Regions from separate parts of the Homo sapiens genome. Here regions 2, 3, 4, 5, 6 and 7 are each linked to region 1. Evidence: promoter capture Hi-C in 16 types of primary human blood cells and fetal thymus (Javierre and others, 2016). All regions are on one chromosome and are shown on one strand. Each heading gives the region's core, a stretch centred on a gene start or on the middle of the fragment in contact. The rest is flanking DNA. Distances are from core to core; before and after follow the strand shown.

Region 1 (3,652 bases), core at 686-3,185:
AAGAATGACAGCAAAGAAAAAAATCCAGAATGATAGCTGTGCAGTAGGCACAGAAAGCAACCACCCAATTTAAAGAAAAATTGAAGTCTCAGGAGGAATGGAAATGACTATGGGGAAAATTGCACTGACAGGCAATTGTATCTGTGGGATGAATAAGTGATAGGGATAAAAAAAATCAAGTAAATGAAAAGGCAAGATAATTATTAAAATCACAAAAAAATTGAAAAAGAAAACATAATTAATACACAATAATGTTCCCAATATATGGTAAGTAAAAGAAAATCTAAAATACCTAAAATGTAATCTAACATAATAAACAGTCAATTGATAATTTCTAAAATTAATTAATCAAAATATATCAGAAAACAGATTAGTGACTGAAGAGATAACTAAAAGAGTTTTAAAATGGCTACCTCTTAGAAGGGGAACTAAGAAAAGTGAGGAGGAAAAGGGCAGAACAAGCCTCTTAGTGCTATTTAATTTTGGACCAAGGTCATATATTATTTTGAAAAAAATGCATTTCAAAATATCAGTAAAGTAGAGCTCTTGCAAGTCTCACCAAGAATAAAAAGGAGTTAAAATGCTAAACATCACTAATAAAAATAGGGATACAATTAAAGGTAAATAACGCAATGAAAACAATTCCAAGAAATTTGCAAACTAGATAAAATGATTTTCAAAATAAAATGCAAGTTACTTAAAAATACAAAACCTGAACAGATTAATAACCAAAGGTAAAATGTAAATGGTAGTCACTGATCTACTGCAAGTGAAGTCACCAAACCCAACCAGTTTAAAAGACAAGCTGGAATTAAGCATGTAGAAACATATAATAATATAATTATTAAAACTATTGTATAAAATAGATAAAAAGCTCCCTAACACATTCTATGATGCCAGTATAATAGTTTAATACCAAGGCCATAAAAGGCAAACACGCACTAGGTAAACAACATTAACTAGAAAAATCCTAAAACCATGTTGACACATCATATCTATCTGTGCACTAAAACAATAATACATTATGGTTAAATGTCATTTATATCAATAACTCAGTAATTTAGAAACTAAAGAATAAATGTATTATTTCAACAGCTATCAAAAATCACTTCAAAATATGAAAGAATAAAAAGAAAACTTTATTGATTCAAAAAAGGAATATTTACCCCAAATTGAGATCAACCATCATAGTTGAAGATGAAATGCTAGAAGCACTTCCACAAATGCAAGATTGACCAACTTGCTACTACTAATTTTAAGAGTATTCATTGGACATTGGAGATTCTAGTCACTGAAATTATAGAGGAACAATAATTTCTTATGTAATACTTAAATCAGGTGAAGGATGAAGGTTGGGTTTGGGGGAGGCATAAAGTGTTCCAAGAAATATCACAGGTAAAGAGTTAAGACCTGGAAAGTGGAATAATTGTTTAATTCACAAGAAATTGGGAAAAGGGTCAATTATTCTGCCATATTCACATTATTATTGTTAAATACTTTACAAATAAATAAAATGTCCCCAACCAATATTTGTTGACTTCAAGGAGGAGGTTTCATTTTCTCATATATATTTTTACTATCCATTTTTAAAATAGGAGATTTTCTTAGGATTTCGGTGGGGAGTCAGAGTTTAGTTTCATGCTCCTAGATTTAAGAAGACTATAAATTAATTCTTCTACGAATCCAGATTATCACAGGGGAAAACGACATCAGCTATTACTTACTAGCATTACTGTGACCATTTGAGGATAAAGATGGAATGAAACAGCAAAGATACCGGGGACAAATCATTCTTGTTGCAGAATTCCTTCAATCCGCCATCTTTTTGTTCTAGTCTTGATAACGGGAATAACATCCACAAAACGCAAGGTGGCGCTGCTGGCTAAAAAGAGAGAGAGAAAAATAATTTCACAAAGAAAGGATGTTACAGATTCCAGAGCAAAGAGGCAATCTGAAGAGAAAAGCATAGGAAAGGAAACAGTGGTAATAGGAATTGGGGTAAAATGAGGATCCTTCCCCACAAACATTGCTATTATTCAGCTCATTTCAAAGGATTCCGCTGCTGCCATTTGTGAGAGCCGCTGGAGGCTGAGTGAAAGTCATTTTGAAAGACTGATCCAAAGAAGAATGGAGGCCAGAGTGGAGCGTGCTGTGCAGAAAAGGCAAGTCTTATTTCTTTGTGTATTTCTGGGAATGTCTTGGGCTGGCGCCGAACCGCTTCGGTATTTTGTGGCGGAGGAAACCGAGAGAGGCACCTTTCTTACCAACTTGGCAAAAGACCTAGGGTTAGGGGTAGGGGAACTGAGAGCCCGGGGAACTAGAATTGTTTCAGACCAGAACATGCAAATTTTACTGCTCAGTTCGCTTACTGGTGATCTACTTCTAAATGAGAAATTGGACCGAGAGGAACTGTGTGGCCCCAGAGAGCCCTGTGTGCTGCCTTTCCAGTTGTTATTGGAAAAACCTTTTCAGATTTTCCGTGCTGAACTATGGGTCAGAGACATCAATGATCACGCTCCAGTATTTCTAGACAGAGAGATTTCCTTGAAAATATTAGAAAGTACCACTCCAGGGGCGGCATTTCTCCTAGAGAGTGCACAGGATTCAGATGTTGGAACCAACAGCCTGAGTAACTACACCATCAGCCCCAATGCCTATTTCCATATTAATGTCCATGATAGCGGGGAGGGGAATATCTATCCCGAATTGGTGCTGAATCAAGTGCTGGATCGGGAAGAGATACCAGAGTTCAGTTTAACCCTCACCGCTTTAGACGGCGGCTCTCCTCCAAGATCAGGGACCGCCCTCGTGCGCATTCTGGTTCTAGACGTAAATGACAACGCCCCTGATTTTGTGCGGTCGCTCTACAAGGTGCAGGTGCCCGAAAATAGCCCCGTTGGTTCCATGGTTGTCTCCGTGTCAGCCAGAGATTTAGATACCGGAAGTAATGGGGAAATAGCCTATGCATTTTCTTACGCCACTGAAAGAATTCTCAAAACGTTTCAAATCAATCCAACATCTGGCAGTCTTCATCTTAAAGCGCAATTGGACTATGAGGCAATTCAAACTTACACATTAACTATTCAGGCCAAAGACGGCGGCGGGCTTTCTGGAAAATGCACTGTAGTGGTTGATGTAACAGATATAAACGATAATCGACCCGAGCTGCTCCTGTCTTCACTTACTAGCCCAATTGCAGAAAACTCACCCGAGACAGTCGTGGCTGTTTTTAGGATTAGAGACAGAGATTCCGGGAACAATGGAAAGACAGTGTGCTCCATCCAGGACGATGTCCCCTTCATCCTGAAGCCATCTGTCGAAAACTTCTATACTCTGGTAACAGAGAAACCTTTGGATCGAGAGAGGAACACTGAGTACAACATCACCATCACCGTCACCGACTTGGGGACACCCAGGCTGAAAACCGAGCACAACATAACCGTGCTGGTCTCCGACGTCAATGACAACGCTCCCGCCTTCACCCAAACCTCCTACACCCTGTTTGTCCGTGAGAACAACAGCCCCGCCCTGCCCATCGGCAGTGTCAGCGCCACAGACAGAGACTCGGGCACCAACGCCCAGGTCATCTACTCCCTGCTGCCGTCCCAGGACCCGCACCTGCCCCTCGCCTCCCTGGTCTCCATCAACGCGG
Region 2 (3,652 bases), core at 359-2,858, 420 kb before region 1:
TGCCAGAAGCAGCATGGCAGGGTACATGCTTATTGGCTGTAGCCTGGTGCTCATGGGTGTTCGGGCATTCATAACAGTGGCAGAGACAGCATGGCTCAGGGGTTGGGGTCCCTGCTGGTGACTGACTGCGTGTGTGGTTTGCTGGTGGTGGTGTTAGCATGGGGGCAAGGTGCTGGCAGGTGCAGGACTGTGTGCACCTTCTGTGTGTTTTCATGTAGGTGGAGGTGGTCACTTAGGGCAGTGGAGGGTCCACTCTTCTCTGCCTAGTTTCACTCTGGTGACAATGTTGGTGCTGGGGCAGGGTGCTGGTGGTGGCTGGGCTGCACTCTGACTACAGTGGAAGTATGATGGGGGAGGTGGTGGAGTGGACTGCACTTACCCCAGCAGCAGTGGCAGCAGAGGGTTCATGGGCACACACATGCTGGTAGGACAGGGAAGGTAAAATCCACCCATGCACATATACTCCAGCAATATAGGGGTGGTTGTGGGCCTGGAGTGAGGGGAGGGAGTGGGTGGGCTGGTGCAGTCTGCCAGCGCAGGAGCTATGATGCAGCCCCCCGAGGGCACTCGAGGCTGCATTGCAAGCAGGTGCAGCCAGGCTGGGGCCCTGCGAGAGGTCAGCAGGCAAAGGGGTGCTCACGTCAGACTGGCCTCATTTGGTGGGCAAGACTGCCCTGAGAGCTCATGTCCAACAGTTCCCCTAGGGCTAAAGTCTCTTATGGGAGCAAATCAAGCCTAGGGGGATGGGCATCCCTGATTATGCTTCACTACAGACATTACCACAACAAACCCTCTGGGCTCTGCACCAGCTGGAGTGCTTCCCCTACCACTTCTCTAAGCAGCTCTCCCTGCCAACTCAAGTGTCCATGGTGGTTGAGGGGTCTCCTCCTGCCCAGATTCCAGAGGCATGTGGTGAGGGCAGGTTGCTCCTTTCCAGTTCAACTTGCTCCTTCCCCTGGAGTAATTGGGGGCTTTTTTTCAGGTTTGATATCGGAGTAATGCTGGCCTCGCAGAATGAGTTTGAATGTATTCTCTCCTCTTTAGTATTTTGAAATATTTTGAGAATAATTGGTATTCTTCTTCTTTTTTTTTTTTTTTTTTTTTGGGACAGAGTCTTGCACTATCTCCCAGGCTGGAGTGCAGTGGTGCGATCTCGGCTCACTGCAAGCTCAGCCTCCCAGGTTCACGCCGTTCTCCTGCCTCAGCCTCCCGAGTAGCGGGGACTACAGGCGCCCGCCATCACGCCCGGCTAATTTTTTGTATTTTTAGTAGAGACGGGATCTCACCGTGTTAGCCAGGATGGTCTCGATTTCCTGACCTCGTGATCCACCCGCCTTGGACTCCCAAAGTGCTGGGATTACAGGCATGAGCCGCCGCGCCCGGTTTTTATTCTTCTTTAAATGTTGGTAGAATTCAGTAGTGAAACTACCAGGTATTGGGCTTTTCTTTGATGGGAGACTTTTTATTACTGATTCGATGTCCTTACTCATTATTGGTCTCTTGAAATTTTTTTATAACTTCATAATTCAATCTTAGTAGGTTGTATGTGTCCAGGAATTTATCTGTTTCTTCTAGGTTATTCCATTTGTTGGTGTAAAATTGTATAATAATGTCTTATGATCCTTTTTATTTCTGTGGTATCAGTTATAATGTCTCCTTTTTCATTATTGTTTTGTTTGTCTTCTCTCTATTTTCCTTAGGTAGTTTAGCTAACTGTTGGCTGGTTTTATTTTTTCTCAAAACACCAACTCTTAATTTTGTTGCTCTTTTGTATTTTTTTCAAGCCTCTATTTCATTTATTTATATGCTGATATTTTTTAGACGAGGCCTCACTCTGTCACCCAGGCTGGAATGCAGTGGTGTGATGTTGGCTCACTGCAACGTCTACTACCCAGGCTCAAGAGTTCCTCCCACCTCAGCCTCTTGAGCAGCTGAAACCACAGGCACCTGCCACCACGCCTGGCTATTTTTTTTTTTCATTTTTGGAAGAGATGGTGTTTCACCATGTTGCCCAGGCTGGTCTTGAACTCCTGTGCTCAAGTCATCCATATACCTCAGCCTCCCAAAGTGCTGGGATTACAGGCGTGAGCCACCTCATCTCACCTAAATTATGACCTTTATTACTTCCTTCTCCTAATTTTAGATTTAGTTTGTTCTTGTATTTCCAGTTCCTTGAGGTATAATGTTGGATTCTTTATTTGAAACCTTTCTTCTTTTTGAATGTAGGTGTTTATAGCTATAAACTTTTCTCTGAGAACTGCTTTTGCTGTATCCCATAAGTTTTGGTGCATTGTGTTTCCATTTCTATTTGTCCAAAAGGGATATTTAAATGTCTTTTAATTTCTTCATTGACTCATTGGTTTTTCAGGAGCATATTTACTCTCTATGAATGTATAAAGTTTCTGAAGTTCCTTCTGTTATTGATTTTTAGTTTTATATCATTGTGGTCAGAAGAGACAATTGATATGATTTCAATCTAAAATTTGTCAAGGCTTGTTTTGTGGCCTAACATATTATCTATTCTGTTAAATATTTTATGTACAGTTGAGAAGAATGTGTATTCTGCAGCTGTTGGATGGAATGTTCTGTAAATGTCTGCTAGGTCCATTTGGTCTACAGTGCAGTTTAAATCTGAAGTTTCTTTGTTGATTTTCTGTCTGGATGACCTGTCCATTGCTGAAAATGGATAGCAAATCCCCCTAATATCATTGTATTGCAGTCTTGTTCTCCCTTTAGATCTATTAATATTCGCTTTATATATTTAGGTGTTCCAATATTGGATGCTTTTGTATTTACAATTGTTATATCCTCTTGCTGAATTGAACTTTTATTATTATATAATGACTTTCATTGTCTCTTTTTAGAGTTTTTGACTTAAAGTTTATTTTATCTGATGTAAGTACAGCTATTCTTGCTCTCTTACAGTCTCCATTTGCATGGAAATTCTTTTTTTTTTTTTTTTTTGAGACAGAGTCTTGCTCTGTCGCCCAGGCTGAAGTGCAGTGGCATGAAATTATATTCATTAAGGTGAAGATAAAATGTGCTTTGGCATAATGAAAGAGTAGAACAGATTAAGAGAATCAGAAATCTGTGAGAGATGGGATGAATGTCACAATATTAAAGAGCTATATAGAATAATCAGGATAGACTTCATTAAGAAATTATATCTAACTTGAAGGATGTGAGGGAGTTAGCCAAGCTGTTTTCTTGGGGTAAAACATTTAAGGCAGAGGGAAAAACTACAGCAAATGCCCTAAGGAAGAAGAATGCTTATTGTGTTCAAGGAGTAGCAGAGACGTCTGTGTGCTTGGATCAGAGAGATAATAATTATTAGGAGGAAATGAGGCCAAGGTGGTAATAAAAGAAACAGATAACTTGGGTTTTCTTTGTCACTGTAAGTCTTTGCTTTCCTGAGGGAAATAGGAAGCTAGAGCTACTCTTTTTGGCACAGGAGTGATGTGGCTAAAGGATTACTCTGGCTGCCATATTAGAAATATGATGTAGGAGGAAAGGGTAAAAGCAGGAGGATACAATAAGAGCTATTTCAGTGACCTCAATGAAAGGTTATAATAATTTTGACCAGGGTGGCAGCGGTGGGGAAAATAAAATAATCAGATTATGAATATTTTTTCAAATGTTGAAAAATATCAAA
Region 3 (3,652 bases), core at 698-3,197, 390 kb before region 1:
TTAGGGTTGCCATGTCTTTTTGGTGGATTGACTCCTTATCATTTATAATTTTCCTCTCTCTCTCTCTCTCTTTTTTTTTGAGACAGGGTCTCACTCTGTCATCCGGACTGGAGTGCAGTGGTGTGATCTCGGCTCACTGCAACCTCCACCTCTCAGGATCAAGTGATTTTCCTGCCTCAGCCTCCCAAGTAGCTAGGATTACAAGCGCGCACCACTACCGCCAGGCTCATTTTTGTATTTTTAGTAGAGAGGGGATTTCATCACGTTGGCCGGGCTGGTCTTGAACTCCTGACCACAAATGATCCACCCGCCTTGGCCTCCCAAGTTGCTGGGATTACATGCATGAGCCACCGCTCCTGGCCTGATTTTCCTCTATATACCGGTAGTTATCTTTGTCTTGAACTCTATTTGATAGATGCTTCTGCTTTCCTTTGATCACTTCTGACTAAAAAATTAAAGTTGAGCAAATTTCTCCTCAATGGGTCCAAAACCATTGCACCTAGATCAGCTGCAGATGAGAACTGAGTTTCCATGGAAATTTTAAACAATGGGATCAAGATTCTGAATACTTTCTTTGGAGAACTGTAACAGGAGATGACACATGGCTTTAGCAGTATGATCTTGAAGACAAAGCACAATCAAAGCAATGCTACCAAGAGGTGCAAATGGCCTAGTCAAAGTAAAAGCAGGCTGGTCAAAAGCAAAGGTCCCAACACACACAAAAAGCAAAGGTCATGGCAACAGGTTTTGGGGATGCTCAAGACATTTTGCTTGTTGATATAGCTTTTACATTTTTAATTTTAATCTCCCTGTATTTTTATATTTCAAGTGAGATACTCATAGGCAGCATGTAATTGGGTCTTTTTTTGATTCACTTAGTCAGTTTTTTTTTCTCTTTCTTTTTCTTTTCTTTTCTTTCTTTCTTTTTTTTTTTTGAGACAGGGTTTTGCTCTGTCACTCAGGCTAGAGTGCAGTGATATGGTGTTGGCTCACTGCAGCCTTGATCTCTCAGGCTCAAGTGATCCTCCCACCTCACCCTCCTAAGTAACTGAGAGTACAGGTGCATGCCACCATGTCCAGCTAATTTTGTTTATTTTTTGTAGAGACAAGGTCTTACTATGTTGCCTAGGTTGGTCTTGAACCCCTGGGCTCAAGAAATCCTCCCACTTTGGCCTTCCAAAATGTTGGAATTACAGGCACAAGCCTCTACACCTAGCCTAAGATTTTTTCTTTTTCATTTATTTTCAAAAGTTTGCCTGTTATATGCCTTGGTGTGGAGTCTTTGGAGTTCACTCACCTCTCTATATTGTTTATCAAATTTGGGAACTTTTTAGCCATTTTTTGAGTTATTTTTAGCCTTGTCTCCTTTGCCTTTTCTTTCAGTACTCCACTGACATGAATGTTGGAGCTTTTGTTAAGTTCCCACATGTCCCCAAGGTACTGTTCTTTTTTATTCTTTTAGTCTATTTTGTTGCTGTTTTTCAAATTGCGTAATTTTTATTTATTTACTTATTTGTTATGTTTTTAGAGATGGGGTCATGCTCTGTTGCCCTGGCTGGAGTGCAGTGGCATGATCATACTGCACCATAACCTCAAACTCCTGGGCTTAAGCAATCCTCCCACCTTCACCTCCCAAAGTGCTGTGATTACAGGTGTGAGCCACTGTGCCCTGCCCAGATTCAGTATTTTCTATTTTTCTTTTAGTTTCCTTATTCTCTTTTTTGACCACTCCATTCTTCTATTTGGGTTTTTATTTTGGTTATTGTACTTTTTTCCAAAATTTTCATTTGGTTCTTTTCATCATCTATTTATTTGCTGAGACTTTCTGTTTCATTGCTGAGGGTTTCTATTTTTTTATTCGTTTCAAGCATATTTGCAATTGCTCATTGAAGCATTTTCATGGTGACTGCTTTAAAATTTTTATCACAGAATTCTAACAGCTCTTTCATCTCATTGTTGGCATTGGTATGTTATTTTTTAAATTTAATTTATCTTCTTGGTTATTGGAATAATGAGTAATTTCTTCATATTGAAACTTGAACATTTTTATATCATGTTTTGAGACTCTAGAGCTTACTTATTCTATTTTAGCTAGTTTCTCCTGACACTGTTCTGTCAGAGAGAGCATTGGCACTACCTCATTACTGTCACTTGAAGATAAAGCCCAAGTTTCCCATAGGCCTACATTGACAAATGCATGGACATGTCCTCTATACTTCTAGGTGGGGTGGAAGTTTTGGCCCCACCATGTGTTCTCCATAGACACTAAGGTAGAGATGCCCTTGTTATCACATGGTGAAAGGTCTTGGCTCTCCACTAAAACCTCCTCTGACATCACCTGATATGGTTTGGATATTTGTCCTCTTCAAATCTCATGTTGAATTGTGATGCCTAATGTTGGAGTTGAGGCTATCAGGAGGTGTTTGGGTCATAAGAGTGCATCCCTCATGAATGACTTGGTGCTATTCTTGGGGTAGTGAGTGAGCTCCCACTCTGTGAGTTCACACAAGATCTAGTTGCTTAAAAGAGTGTGGTATCTCCTTCCTTTTCCTCTTGCTCTCTCTCTAATCATGTGATATGCTGGTTTTCCCTTCGTGTTCAGCCATGATTGGCAGCTTCCTGAGGCCTTCACCAGAAGCAGATGCCAACACCCTGCTTCCTGTACAGCATGCAGGACCATGAGGCAAATAAACCTCCTTTCTTTATAGATTACCCAGTCTCAGATATTACTTCATAGCAACACAAAATGAACTAATACAGAAAATTGGTACCAAAGACTGGGGTGTTCCTATAAAGATATCTGAAGATGTGGAAGCAGCTTTGGAGCTGGGTAACGGGCTGAGATTGGAAGAATCTGGAGGTCTCAGAAAAGACAGGAAGATGAGGGAAAGTTTGGAACTTCTTAGAGACTTGTTAAGTGGTTGTGACAAAAATGCTGATAGAACTATGGATAGCAAAGGCCAAGCTGATGAGTTCTCAGATGGAAATTAGGAATTTATTGGGAACTGGAGCAAAGGTCACTCTTGTTATGCCTTAGCAAAGAACTTGGCTGCATTGTGTCAATGTCCTGGGGATTTATGGAGGGTTGAACTTAAGTATGATTACCTAGGATATCCAGTGGAAGAAATTTCTTTCTTCTTTTTTTTTTTTTTTTTTTTTAAGGCGGAGTCTCGCTCTCTAGCAGGCTGGAGTGCAGTGGCACAATCTCGGCTCACTGCAAGCTCCATCTCCCGGGTTCATGACATTCTTCTGTCTCAGCCTCCCGAGTAGCTGGGACTACAGGTGCCTGCCACCACGGCTGGCTAATTTTTTTTTTTTGTATTTTTTTAGTAGAGACAGAGTTTCACCGTGTTAGCCAGGATGGTCTCGATCTCCTGACCTCGTGATCCACCCACCTCGGCTTCCCAAAGTGCTGGGATTACAGGCATAAGCCACTGCGCCCAGCCAGGTGGAAGAAATTTCTAAGCAGTGAAGCATTCAAGATGTGTCATGGCTGCTTCTAACAACCTATGATTAGATATGGGAGCAAATAAATGACTTAAAGTTGGAACTTATATTTAAAAGTGAAGTGGAGTGTAAAAATTTGGACAAGTCACAACCTGGCCACGTAGTAACAGAAGGAAAAAGCATTTTCAGGAAATAGATTCAAGAG
Region 4 (3,652 bases), core at 529-3,028, 370 kb after region 1:
TGTGCCTGTAATCCCAGGTACTCGGGAGGCTGAGGCATAAGAATCGCTTGAACCCGGGAGGCGGAGGTTCTAGTGAGCCAAGATTGTGCCACTGCACTCCAGCCTGGGCAACAGAGCAAGATTCTGTCTCAAAAAAAAAAAAAAAAGAAAGAAAAAGAAGAAAGAAAGAAAAAGAAATGAACAACTAGAAAGAGAAATAAAGTACCATAAGACAAAAGCAAATAAATAAATAGAAAAGAGAAAGAAACACTTCAGTTACATTTCAGTTATGTGAACAAAAGTTACGTGACCCAACTGTATGCTAAAAACCACAAAACACTGATGAGAGAAATCAAAGACCTATATAAATGGAAAGATACATGATGTTCATAGAACATAAAATTCAACATTGAAAGATGTATATTTTCCCCAAATCGATCTACAGATTCAACATATCCTTTCATCCTATTAAACGGAATCACCATGTGACCTAGCAAATCCACTCCTAAGGCATATATCCCCCAAAACCAAAAACAGCTACTCAAATGGATACAAGTACATGCACATTCATAGCAGCTCTATTCAAAATAGACAAAACGTAGAAATAGTCTAACTGTCCACCAGGCGCAGTGGCTCATGCCTGTAATCCCAGCAGTTTGGGAGGCCTTGGCAGGCGGATCATGAGATCAGGAGTTCGAGACCAGCCTGGCCAACATGGTGAAATGCCATTTCTACTAAAAATACAAAAAATTAGCTGGGCATGGTGGCGCATGCCTGTAATCCCAGCTACTCGGGAGGCTGAGGCAAGAGAATCACTTGAACCCAGGAGGCAGAGGTTGCAGTGAGCCAAGATCGTGCCACTACACTCTGGACTGGGCAACAGAGTGGGACTCTGTCTTGGGAAAAAAAAAAAAAAGAAATTGTCTGTCTGTCAATTAATGCATAAACAAACTGTGGCATATGCAATGGAATATTATTCTGCCATAAAAAGTAATGAGCTACTGATAACATGATACAATGTGGAGAATTCTCAAAAACATCATGCTAAAGTGAAAGAAGCCAGACACAAAAGTCACATATATTATTTCACTTATATGAAATATTCAGAAGAGGTAAATCTATAGAGACACACATAGACTGGTGATTGTTAGGAGCTAAAGGGATGGAGGAATGAGGAGCAACTGCTTAAAGTGTAAAGGATTTCTTTTGGGAGTGATGAAAATGTTTTGGAACTGGATAGATATGATGGTTGTACATTATGAGTATACCAAATGCCACTAAATTGCTTGCTCTAAAATGGTTAATTTTATGTTGTGTGAATTTCATCTCAATAAAATTGTTTATTGTCTTACATGTTTAAAAACTAATTCAATTGGTGAAACTTGAATATGGATTGTATATTAGATAACAGTATCCTATCAATGATAAATTTTCTAAATGTGATAATTACACTGTGATTATAGAACTTGTATTTAGAAGATGCATGCTGAAGAATTTAAGGGTAAAAGGTCATGCTGTTGGTACTTCATCTCAGTTTAGTTACAAAAAAAAAAAAAGAAAATGTTCATAGTAGCATTATTTATAATAGCCAAAAAGTGGAAACAATCCTAATGTCCATCAACTGATGAATGGAAAAAACAAAATGTGGTGTCATAAAAAGGAATGAAGTGCTAATACATGCTGCAACACGAACCTTGCAAGCATCATGATTAGTGAAAGAAGCCAGACACAAAGGGCACATACTTTATTAATTATATTGACACAACATGTCCATGACAGGCAAATCCATATGATAGTAAGTAAATTAGCAGATGCCAAGTTGGGTGGAATGGGAAGTAGGAAGTGGCTGCTAGTGGATTCAGGGTTTCTTGTAAGCGTGATAAGAATGCTGTGGAATTAGATAGTGGTAATGGCTGGACAACTTTCTGAATACAGACTATCCCTGACTTAAGATAATTCAACCTAACAATTTTTTTTAGCTTATGATGGTGCAAAAGCCATATGCATTCAGTAGAAATTGTACTTCAAATTTTGATTCAAAATTCATTATCAACATTATAAAACTGGCTTTGCGTTACATTATTTTGTCCAATTGTAAGCTAATATAAGTGTCCCGAGCATGTTTAAGGTAGGCTAGGCTAAGAAAGATGTTTGGTAAGTTAGGTGTTATTAAATGCATTCCAACTTAACAATATTTTCGACTCACAATGGCTTTCAGGACATAATTCTATTGTAAGTCAAGGAGCATCTGTACACACACAAAAAATGGGATTGTATACTTTAAAGATGAATTTTATCATATGTGAATTATATGTCAATACAATCAATAGATAAATGTATACATGCATATAGACAAGCATGCATCTATACAACGGACCATAGAACTAAATGGAAAACCTAAAACTACCAAACATCTAGAAGAGAACAGGGGAAAATCTTCACAGCTTTGAGGTGGTAATAATTTCTCAGGTAAGACACAAAAAAAAGTATAAATCGGCCGGGCGCGGTGGCTCACGCCTGTAATCCCAGCACTTTGGGAGGCTGAGGCAGACAGATCACAAGGTCAGGAGATCGAGACCATCCTGGCTAACACGGTGAAACCCTGTCTCTAGTAAAAATACAAAAAATTAGCCGGGCGTGGTGGCGGGCACCTGTAGTCCCAGCTACTCGGGAGGCTGAGGCAGGAGAATGGTGTGAAACTGGGAAGTGGAGCTTGCAGTGAGCTGAGATGGCACCACTGCACTCCAGCCTGGGCGACAAGAGTGAGACTCCATCTCAAAAAAATAAAAATAAAAATAAAGAAAGAAAAGAATACAAAACATAAAAAGAAAAATTGATGAAGCAGACTTCATCAAAATTAAAAACTTCTGTTCTTTTGAAGCCATTATTAAGAAATGAGAAGACAAGATTGGGAGAAAATATCTGCAAAACACTTATCCGATAAAGAACTAGTATACCCAACACAGATTAAAAAGTTATGACTAGATCATAAGAAAACAACCCAATTTTAAAAAATGGACAGATTTGGAAAGTCACTTTACCAAAGAAGATATACAGATGGCAAATTAAGCACAGAGAAAGCTGCTCAATATCATCAGTAAGTCATGAAAACTATGTACTAGGAATTAAACTCATTAGGAATTAAAACTACAAAGTCTAACCTTTTAAAATCACTAAAAACAAAACCAAACAAAACTTATGAGACTTAAGTGTTGGTGAGGATGCAAAGCATTTGCAACTCTCATACATTGCTAGTGGAAATGAAAAATGGTACAGCCACTTTGGAAAACAGTTTGGCAGTTTCTTATACAGTTAAACATACATTTACCATACCATATGACCCAACAATCTCATCCCTAGGTGTTTATCCCTCCAAAATGAAAATATATTTGTCTAGACAAAATCCTGTATGCAAACGTTTCTATCAGCTTTATTCATAATTGCCAAAAACTGGATACAACCCAGATGTCCATCAGCCAGTGAATGGACATAATGGACATTATGCTAAAATCAAAGAATCCAGACTGAAAAGGCTACTTAGTGTATGATTCTACTTATATGACAGTCTGAAAAAGACACAACTGTCAGAAAATAGATCAGTGGTATGCCAGGGTTTGGCAATAAGGAGGAGGACTGACAAATGAACATGAAGGAACTTTTTGGAGTGACTGTG
Region 5 (3,652 bases), core at 334-2,833, 350 kb after region 1:
GAAATGGTAGAGGGAAGGAAAGGAAGAGTTGAATTTCTTTCTTCCCTTGGCTTTTATCCCAGTGAGCAAATGACTTGTATACAAGAGGCCACAATTCAGACATGGAGATAAAGTTGAGTCATTAAAACCACAAGCTGACTCAATCATGGGCCTGAAATAGCAGCTGTAATACAATCACATGGATTCTTCCCCTTGACACTCCAACCATTGTTCTCCCACACCCTGCGGATCACAGGAGTTTACATGTTGCTTTTAATGAACCAAGCCTGATAGTAACTCTCCTCTTCCAACTCCTCAATGAGTCTTTGTATACTGGTCACTCCCCCAGGTCTCCAGAGACCGGAAGAATTTAACATTCCTTTAAATTCTAGGGAAAAAGCTAGTGTCTTTGAATAGGGACAGCTGCCTCTCTGGAAAAAAGGAGGGCTATGAGGCAGATATGTTCCACAGTGCCTCTGTTTTTTTAGCTCAAAGCAATCAGCCAAGAGGAATAGTCAGAGACAGCCAGGCAAGGGGTGGAACAGCCAAATTCAGTAGCTGCATAGAGAAACCTATAGCCAGTGGAGCCTTTGTATTTTGAGAATGGGGCCATCTAAGTCCAGCCTCTCTCTCCTCTTAATCCTGTTGTCACTGCACAAAAAAAATATTAGAGCTGGAAGGGACCCTGCAGACCATTCATTCTAGTCCAACTCTCATTTTATACCTGAGGAACTGAGTCCCAGAAACATTAAGTGACTTGCTTAGGATAACACAGACAGCATCAGAACTAGATGTGACTTTAGGTCTTTTGATCCCTACCTAGCCCTGTGTTCTTTGTAATCTACTCTGATGGCTATCCTCCTGTTTAATGTGAGACCGCATCACATCACTTTACATGATGTGAATGCACCAGGGTCTAAAGAGTTACCAGAATAACTACAAATGTCTCCCTTGAGATTCTCCCAGATATATTCAAGTGTATTTAGTGGACCCAGAGCCTAGAAAGATAAGCTTATAGGCTAGAGCCACTTAAAATATATGTAATTGTCATTTCACCTACTTTCCAATTTAGTATCTCCTAGTATAAGTCTCCTCCTATTCCCTCTTGCATGGGAGAGAGTACTTTGACTAATTCAGGTCCTCTGCTGGAAGGTTAGTTTCCAACAAAATTCCTCCTTCCTCCACCTGTGAGTTCTGATTTTCTACTTGGAAAGAAGTGAAGAATGGGGCTTCCCCAGCAGAGGGAAGCCACTGATGTCTGGCTACCTGTGGACAGGAAGCATCTGGGATTCTAGTATAGTTCCACAGGAAGAGGCTTAAAAGGGAATTCCCCACCAAAATTCTGATGCAGGCACTTAGCCGACGGGGTCAAAAAAAAAAAAAAAAAAAACAATAAGATGCAATGTATTTTTGTAAGGCTAGAAATGCTTAATGTTAAGGCCACATCACCTTGTGTGGTCAGTAGGAAATAATGTTGTAAGAACCTATAAAGACAAAATACAGGAGTAATAGTACCTCTAGCTGTACTCTCCTTGCAAACACCTATCTATAAGACTAAATGCTCGAGCCCAGAGAGTACTCAGCTCTTCATATCCACTTCTCCCCACGCTTTAGAAAGCCTGTACTCAGAGAATGCCAGAAAATGGGTAAGAACTTTGACTCGGGAGCTTTCAGTTTGGGGAACATTCTGAAGTCATACAAGAGAACCCTCAGAAGGGAGTATCACTCTGGTTATTCAGAGTATAGGTAGAAATGGGCAGCCAGCCATTACAGATGAAACTCACAGTGATGGCTGTTGTTGGGCCAGAATACTGAGTTTACATAGGCTAGCATGCTCTAAGGTCCCCCTTTCCAGGCTGTGGCAGGTACTACAGGCCCTACAGATACCACTGTATTAATAGCTAAGCACTGGCCAAAGCAAGCTGTGTTAACTCCTTCTGTTTACAATAATCTCAAAGTATAACTATCAAATGGGCCTACACAATGCAACAGCCAGGAAACAGGGAACATAGATTTAAGTCCCTCTGAAGTAGAAACCTCTAATGATGCCTTTTTTTGTAATTCCCACTCTTCAAATTAGTAAAGAAGCCACCACTCCTAGCCTCAAAAGACCTTCACTAGACACGATAGTGCAGGTCAACTCCACATGAGGGGCAGACTTGCCTATACCTTCCTTTGAATTAGTCTCTTGGCCACTGTAAGCTTCCCTGAAAGGGAACTTATTCATTAATCTTTTCCCATACTAATGCCTGGATCACTTGTCCTAGCTCCATAATTCTTTTTAGAATCTCTAGCTCAATGTAATCCACTTAGATCTTCCAAAGGACATGAAAGGAGATTGCAGGGCAGTGATGGGGAAGGCAAGGGCAATAGAGGCTAACTGCACTCAAGGAAAAGGTAGTTTTCAGACACGGCATAATCCTTCAACTGAGATGCTCCTCTATATTTTTCTATCTGGGAATAATGATGCCTAAACCTGTCTACAAAATTTTATACTTTCTATTATTAGTTCTCTCTACGTATGTCTTCTGCTTGTGAAGTCCAGAGTAAGGACTCTGACTTATTTTTTCTTTGAATTTCAATCTATATCTAATATACATTTTGTATTTAGATCAACTTTTGTTCATACACACAAATGCCAACTCAAATCCCTGGGTCCTGCAGCTCAGTTCCTTTGTTCCAAATATCTGCTTCAAGAGTGGGGAGAAATGCGGCATAATCCAATGTAACTGATTTATTGCCAGTCCCTTAAACCCCAGTTTTCTAAGTCGCTACTCTGTAACATGGGAAGAAGAGGACTAGATAATCCGTTCTGGATGCAGGGACTAAAAAGATGCTTAGAGCATCATTATTTGCTCTTTAGCCGCAGACTGGCAGGAGTAGAGAGCCCTCACCCCCTTCGACACCCAGGATGAGCTCCATGTGCTTACTTACCTTGACGGGGCCCTCTCTTCCGTCGGAATGCTGCCCCTGACTGCAGGGCTTCTAGAAGACTGTCCATCACACCTGTCTCATCGCCCTCTGTTATAAAGAACAAGATGGAGATGTGAACTCTTCAGCCAGAGCAGCATGGCAAATATCAAGCCCCACACAAAATGAATGGCTATTGCTTGATTTCCCCTCTCCCACAGCAGCTGGCAGCTAAGAAGAGGCAAAGAGAGCTCAGCCTTAAGTCTCACACGCTCATGTTTACTTGTATCTGCTAAAAAATGGTTAAAACAAAAGATCTCATTGCCTATTATCCAATGCAGACCTTGGGATATTTTCCCGCAATGCCATCCTCCCCACCCCAATCAGGACTAGCAACAAAATTATACAACTGCCCAACTCCAAGACCAGGATAAGTAGAGACTACGATTGTGAAATTACTAAGCAACTATATCACTCCCTTTTATCCTAAAGTGTTTTGCCTGGTTAGGTTTCAGAGCAGGGCCGAGGAAAGACCACTGATCAAAGAGTGCACTTTCCTGAAGTACTGCCTCCAGTGGCTAAGTCTTCCTGATGTCTAAGTCCTCTGCATCTAAGAGGAGCAGCCTGGCTGGAATACAAAGAGTTAATGTAGAATCCTTGTTCTAGCCTGGCTCGGTTTCCATGACAACAGCTTAGGATAGTGAAATCTGAAACTGTGAAATCCCAAAAAGTCCATAGGCTGCCAGATCCAAGGCTGGGGCTC
Region 6 (3,652 bases), core at 585-3,084, 350 kb before region 1:
AGTACATGAGATATTTTTTCCAGACTGAGAGGAGCATGTGAACTGATATTGTTGATGACTTTTTCTCCATTGAGTATATCTTTTAAAATACTCAGTATTTATCATAATACTCTGCAGATTACAATGTACACATTGTTAATACTACATTGTTAATTTGCCTTTTAAATACTTAATATTTACTTTTTTCAAAGGTTATCTTTGTGTATTTTGTATAAAATTCTACTATAATTTATTCCATAGCTTTGTAGTTTTACATTATTTACTGTTATATAATAGAAAGTGGCTAACATCAGCTAATGCTGTTTTCTAAATATTTATTATCATTTTCTTATGTTTTTAACCATTGTGTATTAAAATATTTCAAAATTATCAGTATGAAAACTATTAGGCAAATAGTCTGGGAAATTGATTTGTGTTTCAACGATCCAAATATTAGTGAAAAGTCATGATAATAGAGATAGTAAAAATCTTATAAGGGAACTGGTAAATATATCTTTAAAGATTGTATCAGAAACAATTCTATGACAATATCTTGTTTCTTTACAAGTTTGAATTCCAGAAATCAAGTGAATTTCCTCTGACTTTGCATTTTCTGGTAATTTCTTTTTTCTTATCAAGCTATATTTTAAATGTAAAAGTATCCAACAATAGAATTGCTAATCTCTTGGTCCCTCTTGTCTTCACAGGTAAGGGATATTTTGTAATATTTAAGGAATTTTATGGAGTATATATACAAGCAGAATGTTAGCTATTTCTTCAATAGAAAACTTGGTGATATTTTCTTTTGCCCATATTTATTAAGTGAAGTTTACTAAATTTTCTAGGTCGTGTTCAAATCATACCATCCAGTAAACAGTTGGGAGATTAAAAAGTAATTAAACTAATATAAAGATAGCCTGGTTAATAAAATGATATTCTTTTCAACATGATTATATTTACTGGAACCTAAACATTTTGTGAAATAGTATGTCATATAGACAATATTAGGATTTTGACTTGTTATGTAAGTACAAAGGTATGTATTTTACAATTTTTAATAATTGCTTTATCAGTAATAGCAACTTGAAGAAATGCTATCTAGATGCTTCTAATTTGAAAATAGTGCAAAGACGATTTACCAAAGTCGTTCTATTATGCTTTTGATTTCTAGAAAGCTGAAATATCCCCATTACAGTTTTTGAGTCAATACAAAAAGTAGATAGGTGTTATAGATAAAGAAATAGGTTTTCATCGATTTGAAAATTAGAACTCCGAGAAGAAACTCAGGTAAGAATGCCATTAAAATAGTTTTAGTTGTTTTTGAAAATAACATCAACAAAATGTCACTATTAAACAGTGAAATTGGAATAAAAATTTGTTTTATGAGTAACACGGAGATAGCATACAAACATTCCATTGACTAATACAGAAAAAACTCAAAAGTTTTAATTAGATATGTTTAAATAGAGATGAGAAAAGTCAAAACTTTAACTCTTAAAAGTTATTTTTATCAGTTTGGAAATATATAAACTCCTCCCTATATAAAATACACCAGCACAAATTTCTCTAGTAAGGATTGGGGTTTCATGACTTTAGATGTATTTTTCTGTAATATTTTAATGACGCACTTATATTGACGCATTTTAAGATAGAGTTTAATGATATATTTTGACTAGAGATAAGTGATTTAAAGAATAAGAATCATGTCATTGAAAGTGAGAATACTTGAGAAATATTGACGAATATAAGCTAAATAAAGCAAAACAAAATAAAACACTTACCCTTTCATCCACATGATGTCGCTGGACACCGGAAGGTTTTTCTCCCTTCCCAGCCTCAAAGGAATACAGTGAGTAGATTTTCCTTAGACAGAAAGGAAAAGAACCTTCCATTTTTGGCTGTGCCAAGAAGCTCAGAAAGGCGATAATATAAAAAATATATAGTTAATTGGGAATTGAATTTACAAAATACATTGTGTGGTGATGCAATAGAAAGCTCATAATTGGAACGAGATTGAGATGGTATATTCCCGGAGAGGAAGTCTGGGATCCCGGCTCCTGCTGCTCTGGCTTCTCCTTGCCTACTGGAAGGCAGGGAGCGGCCAGCTCCACTACTCGATCCCGGAGGAAGCCAAACACGGAACCTTCGTTGGCCGCATCGCGCAGGACCTAGGGCTGGAGCTGGCGGAGCTGGTGCCGCGCCTGTTCCGGGTGGCGTCCAAGGGCCGCGGGGACCTTCTGGAGGTAAATCTGCAGAATGGCATTTTGTTTGTGAATTCTCGGATCGACCGGGAGGAGCTGTGCCGGCGGAGGGCGGAGTGCAGCATCCACCTGGAGGTGATCGTGGACAGGCCGCTGCAGGTTTTCCATGTGGAGGTGGCAGTGAAGGACATCAATGACAATCCGCCCAGGTTCTCCAGACAAGAACAAAGATTATTCATTTTAGAGTCAAGAATGCCAGATTCGCGGTTTCCGCTAGAGGGCGCGTCGGATTTGGATATTGGAGCAAATGCACAATTGAGATACAGGTTAAATCCAAACGAATATTTTGACTTAGATGTTAAAACAAATGAAGAAGAAACGAACTTTTTAGAGCTGGTTTTGAGGAAATCCTTAGATAGAGAAGAAACACAAGAACACCGTTTATTAGTGATTGCAACTGATGGAGGAAAACCCGAACTAACAGGTACAGTTCAGTTGTTGATCAATGTATTGGATGCTAATGATAACGCCCCAGAATTTGATAAATCCATTTATAATGTCAGATTGTTGGAAAATGCACCAAGTGGGACATTAGTTATTAAACTGAACGCCTCAGATGCAGATGAGGGCATCAATAAGGAAATAGTGTATTTCTTTAGTAATCTTGTTCTTGACGATGTAAAGTCCAAATTTATAATTAATTCTAATACTGGTGAAATAAAAGTTAACGGGGAACTGGATTATGAAGACTATAACTCATATGAAATTAATATTGATGCCATGGATAAAAGTACATTCCCATTATCAGGACACTGTAAAGTAGTAGTGAAACTCCTGGATGTGAATGATAATACCCCAGAGATGGCCATAACCACCCTTTTCCTGCCTGTCAAAGAGGACGCTCCACTCAGCACGGTCATTGCTCTGATCAGCGTGTCTGACCGTGACTCAGGTGCCAACGGGCAGGTGACCTGCTCCCTAATGCCCCACGTTCCCTTCAAGCTGGTGTCCACCTTCAAGAATTACTACTCGTTGGTGCTGGACAGCGCCCTGGACCGCGAGAGCGTGTCGGTCTATGAGCTGGTGGTGACCGCGCGGGACGGGGGCTCGCCTTCGCTGTGGGCCACCGCCAGCGTGTCTGTGGAAGTGGCCGACGTGAACGACAACGCTCCGGCGTTCGCGCAGCCCCAGTATACCGTGTTCGTGAAGGAGAACAACCCGCCAGGCTGCCACATCTTCACGGTGTCTGCACGGGACGCGGACGCGCAGGAGAACGCCCTGGTGTCCTACTCGCTGGTGGAGCGGCGGGTGGGCGAGCGCCCGCTGTCGAGTTACGTTTCGGTGCACGCGGAGAGCGGCAAGGTGTACGCGCTGCAGCCGCTGGACCACGAGGAAGTGGAGCTGCTGCAGTTCCAGGTGAGCGCGCGCGACGCGGGCGTGCCGCCTCTGGGCAGCAACGTGACGCTGCAGGT
Region 7 (3,652 bases), core at 632-3,131, 320 kb before region 1:
AGTAGCTGGGATTACAGGTGCATGCCACCATGCCCTGCTAATTTTTTGTATTTTTAGTAGAGTCGGGGTTTCACCATGTTAGCCAGGATGGTCTCGATCTCCTGACCTCCTGATCCGCCCACTTCGGCCTCCTAAAGTGCTGGGATTACAGGCATGAGCCACCGCGCCCAGCCTAAAATGCTTTCTTAGCAAGTAGAGAAGATTGTAATAACCAGTCTTCATTAAACATTAAATAGGACCCTTACAGATCTCTAACAGCATATCATCATGTCAGGAATTATTACTGAGCCCCAGCCCCTGGCTTTAAAATTTGAGGTCAAATAAAGAATATGAGTCACACAATGCAAGGCAAGATAATGTAACAGGTACAAGAGGTAAATCAGAATGACGTTGAAGTTGAAAGACAATCATTTCCTATTTGAATTTTTGAAGAAATACTTGAAGGGGCATGGTGTGTTTCAGTGGTTTTAAAATAAGTAAGTTCCCCCCGGGAGAATATTGAGAATGATAGACATTTCTTGGAAAGAGAAAACATAAGGAAAGTTGAAGACACAGAAAGCATCAATATGACAAGTAGAAAAGTCCACTTTGGTTAAAACACACAGTCTGCAGAGAATGAAAGCAGGAAAACCAATGTAAGAAGATCTCTTGATTTCTGAGTAATAAACTAAAGGGCCATGAGTGATTAAGGAATTTGGCCACTCTTTAGAATTAATTGGGAGCTATTTAACTACCTTGAGCAAAATAAATCACGACTTTTGAAAGAAGGTTGAACGGGAAGACAAACTCAGAAGCTCCTGCAGTAATCAAGGACAGAAGCAATTGTTAAATGCACCTCTTAGGCTGTTATCAGTAGAAATACGAAATAAAAGATAAATATGCAAAAACATTAATGGCACAATAAACACTCACGGTTTTGCCTTTAGACTTGAGATACACTAAAATCTAGATTTAATTAATCGACTTGGACGTTGGAATAAGATAGTAAAACTCACAACAAAACTTTGTAGAACTTAGTCAGGAAAAGAATCTCAAGCATAGCTTTAAAAACAGAAATTGCCCCGAGTACTAAGGATGAGCAATAATGAAATTAAAACATATTGTAATAACATTACACAAACTATATTGGAGACTACAAAGAAGAGATTATTCATAGATTATAAAGCTTGGAAAGAATCAAAACAACACATTTCTGGAAACAGATTGTATAAATGCTACAAAAGAGAAAAATATATTTTCTCCCCACGCAACACAAGACCTTAAAGTCAATTCTCGCTTTTCTTGCAATATTTTATACCTTTTCAATTCATAGAATTACTCAAGAAAACTACCTCAGTTGGTTGCTACTTTTTGTTGATTCCTTTTACCAGACATGACTAAGTTTCTTTTTCATCAGTAGATTTCTGGGCTCCTATATTCACTAGAGATTGCAACTCCTGGATTTCTCTTACACTAGAATCCTATTTCGAGCCATATGGGAGATTCTGAATTCCAGAACAAAAGAATTTTGTAATTTAAAATTCGTGATTGCTCAATGGAATCATTTTAATTGTTACTTCATTTCTGTCGTTATTTAAAACTTAAGTGGAGAGTTTTCTCAGGGATAAGAAAACCACAATCAAGGTCATACAAAACTTTTAGAGGCAGTCAGTCTGCTAAGAAGGCTCCAGCAAGAGAAACGGGATCTTCTGTTTCAACAATCATTACTTAAGAAAAAATTAAGAAAATGAAATAAGTTTTGCAGAATAACTGTGAAATTTTTATTCATGAAATATGTACTTACACTTTGGGCCACGTGATGTCACTCTTTGCCGCGATGTTCTCTCTGAATCCAGACAAATACAGCCCTTTTCCCATGGGAAAGAGGCTCAATTCTTTTTCACTCTCTCTGTGCTGAACGATGGCGAACACAGCAGAATGGGACTGACGAAATCAGATGATTTCTTCTAATTTGGAGGCAATTTTCACTAATTAGAAGAAGACTGAGTATTTGAAATGTTATACTCAAGTCGAGGAGATCCAGAGGGTCAGCCTCTACTGCTCTCGCTTCTGATCCTCGCAATGTGGGTGGTGGGGAGCGGCCAGCTCCACTACTCCGTCCCGGAGGAAGCCGAACACGGCACCTTCGTGGGCCGCATCGCGCAGGACCTGGGGCTGGAGCTGGCGGAGCTGGTGCCGCGCCTGTTCCAGTTGGATTCCAAAGGCCGCGGGGACCTTCTGGAGGTAAATCTGCAGAATGGCATTTTGTTTGTGAATTCTCGGATCGACCGCGAGGAGCTGTGCGGGCGGAGCGCGGAGTGCAGCATCCACCTGGAGGTGATCGTAGACAGGCCGCTGCAGGTTTTCCATGTGGACGTGGAGGTGAAGGACATTAACGACAACCCTCCAGTGTTCCCAGCGACACAAAAGAATCTGTTCATCGCGGAATCCAGGCCGCTTGACTCTCGGTTTCCACTAGAGGGCGCGTCCGATGCAGATATCGGGGAGAACGCCCTGCTCACTTACAGACTGAGCCCCAATGAGTATTTCTTCCTGGACGTGCCAACCAGCAACCAGCAGGTAAAACCTCTTGGACTTGTATTACGGAAACTTTTAGACAGAGAAGAAACTCCGGAGCTTCATTTATTGCTCACGGCCACCGATGGAGGCAAACCCGAGCTGACTGGCACCGTTCAATTACTCATCACGGTACTGGACAACAATGACAATGCCCCAGTGTTCGACAGAACCCTGTATACGGTGAAATTACCAGAAAACGTTTCTATCGGAACGCTGGTGATTCACCCCAATGCCTCAGATTTAGACGAAGGCTTGAATGGGGATATTATTTACTCCTTCTCCAGTGATGTTTCTCCAGATATAAAATCCAAGTTCCACATGGACCCCTTAAGTGGGGCAATCACAGTGATAGGACATATGGATTTTGAAGAAAGTAGAGCACACAAGATCCCAGTCGAGGCTGTCGATAAAGGCTTCCCACCCCTGGCTGGTCATTGTACACTTCTTGTGGAAGTTGTGGATGTAAATGACAATGCTCCACAGTTGACTATCAAAACGCTCTCGGTTCCTGTAAAAGAGGACGCACAACTGGGGACAGTTATTGCCCTGATTAGTGTGATCGACCTAGACGCAGATGCCAACGGGCAGGTTACCTGCTCCCTGACGCCCCACGTCCCCTTCAAGCTGGTGTCCACCTACAAGAATTACTACTCGTTGGTGCTGGACAGAGCTCTGGACCGCGAGAGTGTGTCCGCCTACGAGCTGGTGGTTACCGCGCGGGACGGGGGCTCGCCTTCACTGTGGGCCACGGCCAGGGTGTCTGTGGAGGTGGCCGACGTGAACGACAACGCACCAGCGTTCGCGCAGTCCGAGTACACGGTGTTCGTGAAGGAGAACAACCCGCCGGGCTGCCACATCTTCACGGTGTCTGCGCGGGACGCTGACGCGCAGGAGAACGCCCTGGTGTCCTACTCGCTGGTGGAGCGGCGGTTGGGCGAGCGCTCGCTGTCGAGCTACGTGTCAGTGCACGCGGAGAGCGGCAAGGTGTACGCGCTGCAGCCGTTGGACCACGAGGAGCTGGAGCTGCTACAGTTCCAGGTGAGCGCGCGCGACGCGGGCGTGCCGCCTCTGGGCAGCAACGTGACGCTGCAGG

Evidence for each region. Contacts are between HindIII fragments. The CHiCAGO score rates a contact against its expected background, and 5 or more counts as called.
Region 2: a contact is called between a fragment that was not itself captured here and the fragment with the promoter of PCDHB7 in region 1, in 6 of 17 cell types (M1 macrophages, M2 macrophages, M0 macrophages and 3 more). The highest score is 9.2, in M1 macrophages.
Region 3: a fragment that was not itself captured here is called in contact with the fragment with the promoter of PCDHB7 in region 1 in 8 of 17 cell types (M1 macrophages, M2 macrophages, monocytes and 5 more); the score reaches 11.6 in M1 macrophages.
Region 4: a fragment that was not itself captured here is called in contact with the fragment with the promoter of PCDHB7 in region 1 in 5 of 17 cell types (naive CD4 T cells, naive CD8 T cells, non-activated CD4 T cells and 2 more); the score reaches 6.3 in naive CD4 T cells.
Region 5: a contact is called between a fragment that was not itself captured here and the fragment with the promoter of PCDHB7 in region 1, in 7 of 17 cell types (naive CD4 T cells, naive CD8 T cells, naive B cells and 4 more). The highest score is 7.5, in naive CD4 T cells.
Region 6: a contact is called between the fragment with the promoter of PCDHA5 here and the fragment with the promoter of PCDHB7 in region 1, in 9 of 17 cell types (neutrophils, M0 macrophages, monocytes and 6 more). The highest score is 13.8, in neutrophils.
Region 7: the fragment with the promoter of PCDHA9 here is called in contact with the fragment with the promoter of PCDHB7 in region 1 in 7 of 17 cell types (neutrophils, M0 macrophages, M2 macrophages and 4 more); the score reaches 11.6 in neutrophils.

What each region holds. Positions count from the first base shown.
Region 1 is chr5:141,170,709-141,174,360 of GRCh38, forward strand. PCDHB7 (protocadherin beta 7) reads left to right here and starts at 1,936. Exons shown (of 1, transcript NM_018940.4): 1 at 1,936-3,652. The coding sequence starts at 2,128. It also overlaps PCDHB@. The HindIII fragment of the contact is 10,030 bases long and covers 1-3,652 here.
Region 2 is chr5:140,753,197-140,756,848 of GRCh38, forward strand. All of the region lies in intron 3 of LOC105378198 (a long non-coding RNA gene), which reads left to right. Among named protein-coding and RNA genes, the nearest start is that of PCDHA1, 31 kb to the right of the region's middle. The HindIII fragment of the contact is 5,694 bases long and covers 1-3,652 here.
Region 3 is chr5:140,779,178-140,782,829 of GRCh38, forward strand. No RefSeq gene overlaps it. Among named protein-coding and RNA genes, the nearest start is that of PCDHA1, 5.1 kb to the right of the region's middle. The HindIII fragment of the contact is 6,118 bases long and covers 1-3,652 here.
Region 4 is chr5:141,541,555-141,545,206 of GRCh38, forward strand. All of the region lies in intron 18 of DIAPH1 (diaphanous related formin 1), which reads right to left. Among named protein-coding and RNA genes, the nearest start is that of DIAPH1-AS1, 15 kb to the right of the region's middle. The HindIII fragment of the contact is 6,929 bases long and covers 1-3,652 here.
Region 5 is chr5:141,521,230-141,524,881 of GRCh38, forward strand. DIAPH1 (diaphanous related formin 1) reads right to left here. Exons shown (of 28, transcript NM_005219.5): 27 at 2,914-3,000. Among named protein-coding and RNA genes, the nearest start is that of PCDHGC5, 34 kb to the left of the region's middle. RefSeq lists an enhancer at 1-287. The HindIII fragment of the contact is 1,191 bases long and covers 989-2,179 here.
Region 6 is chr5:140,819,779-140,823,430 of GRCh38, forward strand. It overlaps PCDHA5 (protocadherin alpha 5), which reads left to right and starts at 1,835. Exons shown (of 4, transcript NM_018908.3): 1 at 1,835-3,652. The coding sequence starts at 1,998. All of the region lies in intron 1 of PCDHA1 (protocadherin alpha 1), which reads left to right. The region is part of intron 1 of PCDHA2 (protocadherin alpha 2); the gene reads left to right. All of the region lies in intron 1 of PCDHA3 (protocadherin alpha 3), which reads left to right. It also overlaps PCDHA4 and PCDHA@. The HindIII fragment of the contact is 13,774 bases long and covers 1-3,652 here.
Region 7 is chr5:140,846,501-140,850,152 of GRCh38, forward strand. It overlaps PCDHA9 (protocadherin alpha 9), which reads left to right and starts at 1,882. Exons shown (of 4, transcript NM_031857.2): 1 at 1,882-3,652. The coding sequence starts at 1,996. All of the region lies in intron 1 of PCDHA1 (protocadherin alpha 1), which reads left to right. All of the region lies in intron 1 of PCDHA2 (protocadherin alpha 2), which reads left to right. All of the region lies in intron 1 of PCDHA3 (protocadherin alpha 3), which reads left to right. It also overlaps PCDHA4, PCDHA5, PCDHA6, PCDHA7, PCDHA8 and PCDHA@. The HindIII fragment of the contact is 21,410 bases long and covers 1,164-3,652 here.